Linked DNA regions of Homo sapiens: region 1 is linked to region 2. Evidence: promoter capture Hi-C in 16 types of primary human blood cells and fetal thymus (Javierre and others, 2016). All regions are on one chromosome and are shown on one strand. The core of a region is centred on a gene start or on the middle of the fragment in contact, and the rest is flanking DNA. Distances in the headings are between cores, read along the strand shown. Region 1 holds the start of MIOX (myo-inositol oxygenase). Region 2 overlaps PPP6R2 (protein phosphatase 6 regulatory subunit 2).

Region 1 (4,869 bases), core at 2,072-4,571, 63 kb before region 2:
TGGGCAGATGTTTACCACGGCCAGTGTGGTGGGACACACACACCTGAAAGCCTGGGACTTGGCCTCCACCCTGCTGGCACCATCCCTCGGCCTGGGCCACGCCCTGCTGCAGTAACACCCAGTGGGGCTTCAGAAGCACAACATCCTTCCAGGTCTTTATTGACGCCAGGCACAAGTTGCCGTGAGGGGTGGCGACCCTAAGGGGGTGAGTGGGGTCCCCCACCGAGGTGAACCCTGATGGCGGCTGTTTGCCCAGGGCCAGGCCTCTCCAGGCAGGCGGAGGGCCAGGCCTAGGTCCAGCAGCAGCTTGGGTGGCAGGAGGGTCACCAGCTCAGGATGCCAGGGCAGTACTTGTCAATGAGCCCCTGGTAGTAGGGCCGCAGCTTGTCCACGTCCGGCAGGTCCGGGCACTTGGTGTAGAGGTCGAACTTGCTGCAGCAGGGAGGGGCGGTGAGCCCCGTGAAGAACCCCCAGGCCCCCCACCCAACCCCCTCTTTCACTCCCACAACACCCCTCGGCGGGTAGCGGGGCGTACTTGAACTCCCGCACCCAGGGCAGCATGGCCAGGTCCTGCTGGCTGCACAGCTGCTGGTAGTCGCGGCCCGTGTGCCAGGGGTAGAAGGAGTGGAACCGGATCATGTAGAAAGCCTGCGGGCAAGGCCACCCAGCGGCTCACTTGGGGCTGCAGGACCGGGCCTGGTGGACGGGCTGCGTTGCCCCTCCCCCCACCTACCTCAGGGGGCAGTGAGAACTTGTTAAACTTCATCACCTGGTACATGTACTCTGTGGGGAGAGGGTGTCACCAGCAGGCACTGCCTCTGCCCCACCGCCCCCCACCGTCCCCCACCGCCCCCCACCGCCCCACTGCCCGCCTCTGGCCTCACCATCATGGCCCCAGGACATGAGGACCCTGTCGAGCCCACAGTGGGGCTGATACATCCCGAGCTCTGTGCTGCAGTGAGATACCAGGGTGAGGAGGGCTCAGCAGCCGCCCAGGGAAGGGGGCCCAGCCCTCAGCAGCAGGGAGCACCTGTATCGAGGATCCTGGAGGTCAGGGTTGTCCTGGAAGGTGGAGTCGCAGAAAACCACGGAGGCCTGCGGACGGCATCCGACGGGGAAGGTGTCGCCGACGACAGCCCACTGCAGAGGGACAGGAGGGACGGGAGGCCATGGGGGGAGTGGGGGAAGGTGTCGCCGATGACCACCCACTGCAGAAGGACAGGAGGGACGGGCGGCCATGGGGGGAGTGGGGGAAGGTGTCACCGATGACTGCCCACTGCAGAGGGACAGGAGGGACGGGCGGCCATGGGGGGAGTGGGGGAAGATGTTGCCGATGACTGCCCACTGCAGAGGGACAGGAGGGATGGGAGGGACGGGAGGGACAGGAGGGACGGGAGGGATGGGAGGGACAGGAGGGACAGGAGGGACAGGCAGCCATGGGGGGCCGTGGGGGAAGTGGGGGAAGGTGTCGCCGACGACCGCCCACTGCAGAGTGACAGGAGGGACAGGCGGCCATGGGGGGCCGTGGGGGGAGTGGTGCGGGGAGGCCGTGGGGGGTGCACTGGCCTGTCCCCCAGGTAGTATCCCAGGCCAAGCACCGAGGCCACCAGAGGGACAGGCAGCCGTGGGGGGGGCCGTGGGGGGTGCACTGGCCTGTCCCCCAGGTAGTATCCCAGGCCAAGCACCGAGGCCACCAGAGGGACAGGCAGCCGTCGGGGGGCCGTGGGGGGTGCACTGGCCTGTCCCCCAGGTAGTATCCCAGGCCAAGCACCAAGGCCACTCCACCCCCACCTTGCCTCAACATGCAGCCTCCTCACCCTCCACTTCCAACTCTTACCTGGGGCTCCCCGAACAGGGCCAGGACCTTCCCCAGGTCGTGCAGGAGCCCGACGAGGTGGAACCAGTCTGGGAGGGGGATGGACAGGGCAGGTTGGGGACTGCAGGGGCCAAGGCAGAGGATGAGCAGGTTTGCGGGGCTGAGAGCCAGGAAGGGTCCAGGGCCTGCTCCCCAACCCAGGCAGGGCTGCTGGAGGAGGCCTGGGCCCACTACTGTCCCCTCCCACCCTACAGGCTGCTGCATTCTGCCCCTTGGAGGCAGCACCTGCCCCCCTGCAGCACAGCCAGGGCTCACCCTTGTCTGGGTGGGCCTTCCGGATGCCCTCCGCTGTCTGGAAGGCATGGAAGGAGTTGGGGAAATCTACGTCCGGGTCCGACTCATCCACCAGCCCATCCAGCAGGTCCACGGCCTCCATGACTGTCATTTTCTTGTAGGAGAAGCCCCCAAACTGGGCATGCTGGCGGGGAAGGAGAAGGCAGTGTGGCCCAGGGTCAGCAGGCCCACCACACAGGCCTCTCCATCCCCTCGGCGCCTGGTGGGCTCATGGGGCTGAGGGCAAGGGTCCCTCCGCGTTTGCACGGGGCGGCAGGAAACGCCTACCTTGCTCCTGACGAAGTCCACTGTCTGGTGCGTGTGCATGAGCTTGTAGGTGGTGAAGACACGGTCCAGGAGGGGACCTGACTGCAGGCCGGAGGGTCAGTGGCGCCACCCCCACCCTGCACACGAGGCCCCATGCCTCCCCTCTCCCAGGCAGCCCCACAGGGTGTGATGGGGGTGGGAGTTCCCACAGGGCACCCCCTGGAACTGTGTGAAGGGCAAGTGCTGCTCCCCAGGGTGTGGATGGGGGAGAAGGGGGGCAGGACGGCAAGGTACTCACCGTGTAGTTCCGGAAGCTGGCCTTGTCTTTGGCCACCTCTGGGTCCACATCAGGTCGGTAGACCAGGGAAGGGTCTGGGCCCTGGGTAGGTGGAGGATTGAACCTATTTCACCATCATGTCAGCTCCACGAGGAAGCACAGACATTCCCAGGGTGGCTGCAGACTCCAAGCCTGCCTCTGCTCGAGGGCTGGTGGGTGACACGCGAGGACACAGCCTCTCCCACGCCATCATCCCAGCCCCTGCCCTGGCCTCAGCGAGTCCCAGGAGCTCTCACTCCCAGGTCCTCATCTGCAAAGCGAAAGTCAGCAGACGTCTGCTTCCGGGGTACAGGGGACACCACGCCTGAGCGGCACCCATGGCCACCCTTGAGGGGTGGAAGTGGCTTTGGGAGGAGACTGAGTCCACAGGGAGCCTGGGGGTCGGCAGCCGCTGGCTCTTGCCCAGCTGGACGGAGGAGGAGGGCTGGCCAGTGCCAGCTAGAAGAGGGCGGGAGTGGCTGGCCACCAGGAGAGCAGTCAGCAGAGCCTCTCTGCATGGGGTCTGGGTACTCACCACCGTCACCTTCATCCTGAGAGGGAGCGGCGCTCAGGTGGCAAAGCACAGGCTGGCGAGTGTGTCCTCAGCCAGGCTCCTATATACACCCCAGGTTACATAAGTGTCCGCAGTAATAAATGACCATCCACCCTCCTCCCGGCCTCAGGGAGTTAATGTGTCAGCACAGCAGCAGCCCCCAGCAGTCCCACATCCTCTGGCCCTGACTCAGCCTCACACTCCTGTCCCGAGCCGCTGACCTGCCTAGGGTTATCTGTGGGCCCAGCCTCCCACTTGGGCCCTGGCCTTAGACCCCTCTGTGGGGTCCCACAAGTAGGGGCAGACCCAAGACCCCACCCTCAAGCACACGCCCCCTCTGCACCACCCCTTCCCCGGCTGCCCCACTGGATCTCAGGAGGTGAAAACTTGTCCCCAGGCCCCCCGTGATTCTGGGTGGGGCAGGAGCTTGTTAAGAAAAGATGATTCTGAGGACTTGTTAAAATGGTGAGAAAAGCTTTATTCAAGAGAGTGGTGAGAGGAGCTCACCTCCGAGTTCAACAACCACAGCTGGAGATTGATGGCGTTGGAGGGGTCAGCGGATGGGAAGTTGTTAGGGCGGCCTTCGAGGGTAGGGGGATTCTCACTGGAGTGGCTCAATGAGGATCTTGCAGGAGGCCGGCAGGGTGATGAGATCAAGGGTGGGAGATGAGGAATGGGATCAGATATCGAGGGTGGGTAATTCTCCATAAACTGATTTAGAGGATTCTTGCTAACACCGGGGTCGGCGGGCCCAGCGAGGATGGGGATGGGGTCAGGCCTCGTCGAGGAAAGGACTCAGGGGCACCTGCCTAGAGTTCGGCCACAGAGTGTGTCAGGCTCTGGGAGAGGGGCCTCACGGAGAGTTGGAGCAGGCACGGAACCGCCAACACCCAGGCCGCCAACGCAACTTCCCATGCATGGGCCCTGCAGGCATGGAGGACACCGTGAGAACAAAGTGCCCGCGGCAGAGCTGGCGTCTTGGAGCGTGGCCAGGGAAGTCTGGGAACAGCAGTCGGCTGGGGCAGGAGAGAGGGCAGTGGGGTGCTGGGGCCATACCTAGGGCTGTGAAGATCAGAGTTCTGGGCTTCAGGGGTCAGGCAAGAGGGCTGTGGGCAGCTGACCTGACTCAACAAGATCCTGGCACAGCTGAGCTGAGAAGCAACTGTGAGGAGACCCCAGCGCCCCCCATTTAAACGGCACCTGCCCCACACTCTCCTTCCTTGTCTGACTTCCTGTGGCACTCAGCACTCCCTGCCACTCCACCACCCACTTATTCTACCTTCTACGTTTGTCTCCTTCTATCTCCCCCTAGAATGTCAGCCCCTGGGGGTCAAGGCTGTATCCTCACGTGTCCCAACACGGGTAGGTCACGTGCTCAGCATGCACTGGCCAGAGGGATGCAGACAGGTGCCTGGGAGGAGGCTACGGCCATCGCCCCGAAAGCAGGTGGTGCCTGGGTCAGGAGAAGGTGTCTGGATAGGTTCAGGAGGTGGGACCGGGTGGGATTCAGAGGAAGGTGTGAAGGAAGAGAGGAGGTTTTTTTTTTTTGAAACGGAGTCTTGCTCTGTCATCCAAGCTTGAGTG
Region 2 (4,623 bases), core at 1,972-4,471:
ATTTTTTCATATTTTTAGCAGAGACGGGGTTTCACTATGTTGGCCAGGATGGTCTCAATCTCCTGACCTCATGATCCACCCACCTCAGCCTCCCAAAGTGCTGGGATTACAGGCATGAGCCACTGCGCCCGGCCGGCCAGCTGGTTTTTAACAATTAGGCCGAGACCATTCATGGGGGAAAGGACGGTGTTTTTTTTTTTTTTTTTTGAAACAGAATCTCGCTCTGTCACCCAGGCTGGAGTGCAGTGGTGTGATCTTGGCTCACTGCAACCTCCGCCTCCCAGGTTCAAGTGATTCTCCTGCCTCAGCCTCCCAAGTAGCTGGGATTACAGGCGCTGCCACCATGCCTGGCTAATTTTTGTATTTTTTGTAGACATGGGGTTTCGCCACATTGGCCAGGCTGGTCACAAACTCCTGACCTCAGGTGATCTGCCTGCCTTGGCCTCCCAAAATACTGGGTTTACAGGCGTGAACCACCGTGCCCGGCCTAGGACAGTCTTTTCAACAAGTGCTGGGAAAACTGGATAACCCCATGCAAAAGAATGAAGCTGGACCCTTACTTTACACCAGATACAAAAATTAATTCAAAATGGATTAAAGACCTAAACATAAGAGAGAAAACATACAACTTTTTGAAGGAAGCATAGAGGAAAAGCTTCATGATACTGATTTGGCAATGACTTTTTTGGATATGACACCGAAAGCACAGGCAACAGAGAAAAAAAGATAATTGGATTTCATCAAAATTTAAAACTTGTGTGTCAAAGGTCATTATCAAGGAGTAAAGGCTGGGTGGCTGGTGGCTCACGCCTATAATTCCAGCACTTTGGGAGGCCACGGCCGGAGCATCACTTGAAGTCAGGAGTTCAAGGCCAGCCTGATCAACATAGCGAGACCCCATCTCTACAAAAAATATAAAAATTAGCTGGATGTGGTGGCGCATGCCTGCAGTCTTAGCTACTCAGGAGGCTGAGGTGGGAGGATCACTTGAGCCCAGGAGTTCAAGGTTACAGGAAGCTATGATCACTGTACTGCAAGACCCTACATCTAAAAAAAATTTTTTATGTAAAAAGATAACCCAAAGAAAATATTTGCATATATCTGATAAAGGATTAATATCCAGAATATATATAGAACTTCTAAAACTAAAAAAAAAAAACAAAAAAAAAACTCAATTCAAAAATGGTCAAAGGACTTGAATAGACATTTCTCCAACGAAGCTATTCACATGGCCAAAAAGCACGAGAAGATGCTCGACATCACTTGTCACACGGAGACACTGTTCCACACGCACATCAGATGACGAGCATCAGCCACACGGAGACACCGTTCCACACGCACATCAGATGACGAGCATCAGAAGAAGGAAGACAAGTGTCGGCGGGATGAGGGGGAGGATGAGGAGAAAGGGGAGACTTTGTTGACAGGAAGATAAAATGGTGCAGCCACTGTGGAAAGGTCTGGCCTCAAAACTTAATCATGGAATTGTCACATGACCTGGCCTCATAGGTATTTATCCAGAAGAACTTCTTCTTACTTTCAGAAGAACTGAAAGTAAGGACTCAAACAGGTATTTGTACACCCACATATACAGCAGTGTTATTCACAATAGCCAAGGCTGGAAGCAACCCAAGTCTCCACTGATGGATGGATGAATGGACAGAATGTGGCCCACCCACACAGTAATTTTTCAGCCTTAAAAAGGAAGGAAATTTGGACATACAGTACAATACTGAATGAACCTTGGGCACATAGTGCTAAGTGAAATAAGTCAGTCACAAAAAGATAATACTTTATGATTCCACTCATAAACTGTACCTAGAATAGTCAAATTCAGAGACAAAGACAATGGTGGTTGCCAGAGACTGTGGAGAGGGAGAATGAATGGGGAGTTAGTGTTTAACGGAGAGAGTTTCTGTTTGGGAAAATGAAAAACTTCTAGATGTGAATAATGGTAATGGCTATACAAGATTGTGAATGCACTGAGTGACACACCTTAAAATAGTTAAAACAGCCAAGTTTATGTTATGATATTTTACCACAGTAAATATAAAAGAGAGGAAGAAAGTGGAAGACAGAATTCTTTTGAAGAAGGAAAAGGGGCTGGGTGCAGTGGCTCAAGCCTGTAATCCCAGCACTTTGGGAGGCCAAGGCGGGTGGATCACGAGGTCAGGAGTTTGAGACCATCCTGGCCAACACGGTGAAACCCCGTCTCTACTAAAAATACAAAAAAAAATTAGCTGGGCATGGTGGCGCATGCCTGTAATCTCAGCTACTCGGGAGGCTGAGGCAGGAAAATCGCTTGAACCAGGGAGTCGGAGATTGCAGTGAGCCAAGGTCCCGCCACTGCACTCCAGCCTGGCGACAGAGAGAGACTCCATCTCAAAAAAAAAAAAAAAAAAAAAAAGAAGAAGAGGGAAAAGGAAAGTAGGTCTCTTTTGTAATTGCTTCCCTGATGCAGACTGGGATCTCACAGCCAAAGCAGTGCCCAGAACTCATACACGCTGACAGACGTTCCACACGCGGACAGACCTTCCACACGCTGACAGACGTTCCACACGCGGACGGACCTTCCACACGCTGACAGACGTTCCACACGCGGACGGACCTTCCACACGCGGACGGACCTTCCACACACTGACGGACCTTCCACACGCGGACGGACCTTCCACACGCGGACGGACCTTCCACACGCGGACAGACCTTCCACACGCTGACAGAACTGAGCCAGACAGCACTTCGAGCCCAGTTCTGGGACTAAGATTGCAGGGAGATTCCAGCAGAGCCCCAGAGCCAGGCAGAAGACGGGGGCTGCGTCTGCCAACAGGACCCACTAGGGCAGTGCCCTTCGTTCTCAGGGGAGCAGCCTCATGCTCTCCGCAGAGGAGCCCGCCACCCACAGCCAGGGCTGCTCACTGGCACTACTTGCCAGCACCGCCTGCCCCTTCCTCTCCTCAGCCACCTGGAGCATCATGCAAGCCGTCTGCGGGATGGAGAGGCACTGCCCGCTGGCTTTGACAAAAACTGCCAGGTTGGCCTTCTACTGTGGACGACAGGAGCTTCTCTTTTAGCCATTTTATACCTAATAACCACCGTGTAAGTTCTATGTTGTTCAGTCAGAACATGAGAAAGGAGGTAGACGTGTCACTCTATTCCATCAAACCGGGTTAGAAATCCGCCTTCTGCTTTCAGGGCAATTCTACGGTAGACTCGTCACTTCCCATGAGCCTGCAGCTGAGACACACCCCACTGCTGCTCTGTGCCCCGCCAGAGACCTGTAGTCCAGCCTTGGGACTTGGGACTGGAACCTCCCCGTGGCAGAGCTTTGTCCAAATGCTGGGGCCCTGCTCTGCTGCTCCTGACAAGTCCACAGGCCATGCCCGGCACACTCACAGACATGCAGGGCTGGCTGAGGGGCCCACTTACCAGCAGTAAGTCCATCGTGTTGAGCCGGCAGAGCTCCTGGTTGATGCTGGGTGTGTTTGTGTGCAGCAGTGCTGCCATGAGGCGGGCGCCATGCAGACGGGCATTCCCCAGGGGCTCCTCCAGCACACCAATGGTGGTCAGGATCGCTTTCTTCTGCAAACACAGAAGGCACCACCCAGTTAGGCCCTGTGAGCAGTGAGGCCACTGCTGGAGTCTCTGGGCTCATGCCCATCACTCTAGGCTGGGACCCAGCCTGGGGTAGCGAGGTATGTGGTGGGGGTTCCTCAGGGAGGGCCGTCTGCCAGAAGAAATGAAGGCATCAATGGGGTGAAGAGCCTGCTGCTCCCCTCAGGGCTTCAGAGAGTGCTCCCAGGATGCTCACGGGCACTCCAGTCTGAGCCTGCAGGGCCAGAGAGCCGTGCACCTCAGCGGGTGAGATGTCCAAGATGGGGCCAGCAGTACCGGTCTAAGGCCAGAGCCCTTGGCACGATGCCTCACTGAGGATGCCCAGTGGGGGTCCCTCTGCGGCCACAATCTCAGAACACCAAGCTAACAAGTGTCCCATGAACACACTTTGGGGACACTGACGGGAATGCCTCCTCCGATGGACCGCGGTCTTTTCTGATCCCCCACACTCAGCCTACTGCACCTACCTTCTCTTCACTGAAACCTCCAGCTGACAAAACAGAATCTTGGCCCCCACAGAGCTCGCTAGTGGGACAGGTGGATCTTACCAAGGTGGCGAGTGAGAGGAACTGAGCTATAGGTCAGGAGGGTGCTATGCAGCAGGGGTCGGGTTGTGTCTGGGGAGGGTGAGACGGGATGGGGAGTTGCCTGGCTGGCAGTCTGAACCAGGAGGAGCCTTTGTGTGCCTCACCCCCCTCAACATGCTGCTGAGCAGGGCAAAGGGCCTCCCCTGCCACCCCCTGGTCCCCTCTCAGGAGCCGAGCACCCCTTAGCTAGGTGCCCCCAACTTGGAGGCCAGGCTTATGGTGACCTCGGGGTCATTTGCAGAGGCAGAGATGAGCATTTGCAGATCTGGGAGGGGCAGTCCTGAAAATGTGTTTTGGCACCTGCCCGGTGCTTCTCAAGTGGGGGTGTGGGAATGGCCGTCTTAGAACACATTCACTCCACACTCTGCTACCTATGGGACAAGCTGTGGCTTCTCCTCCCTGCAAATCAACCTCTCCTGCGACG

What was found. Contacts are between HindIII fragments. The CHiCAGO score rates a contact against its expected background, and 5 or more counts as called.
Region 1: the fragment with the promoter of MIOX here is called in contact with a fragment that was not itself captured in region 2 in 7 of 17 cell types (megakaryocytes, fetal thymus, M1 macrophages and 4 more); the score reaches 5.5 in megakaryocytes.

The regions. Positions count from the first base shown.
Region 1 is chr22:50,485,311-50,490,179 of GRCh38, reverse strand. It overlaps MIOX (myo-inositol oxygenase), which reads right to left and starts at 3,321. Exons shown (of 10, transcript NM_017584.6): 1 at 3,268-3,321; 2 at 2,715-2,795; 3 at 2,438-2,518; 4 at 2,132-2,294; 5 at 1,838-1,905; 6 at 1,031-1,140; 7 at 885-952; 8 at 734-783; 9 at 536-648; 10 at 1-432. The coding sequence starts at 3,282. The coding sequence ends at 324. It overlaps ADM2 (adrenomedullin 2), which reads right to left. Exons shown (of 3, transcript NM_001253845.2): 3 at 3,743-4,869. The HindIII fragment of the contact is 4,673 bases long and covers 1-3,762 here.
Region 2 is chr22:50,422,418-50,427,040 of GRCh38, reverse strand. PPP6R2 (protein phosphatase 6 regulatory subunit 2) reads right to left here. Exons shown (of 24, transcript NM_001242898.2): 10 at 3,427-3,579. Among named protein-coding and RNA genes, the nearest start is that of MIR12114, 17 kb to the right of the region's middle. The HindIII fragment of the contact is 5,127 bases long and covers 658-4,623 here.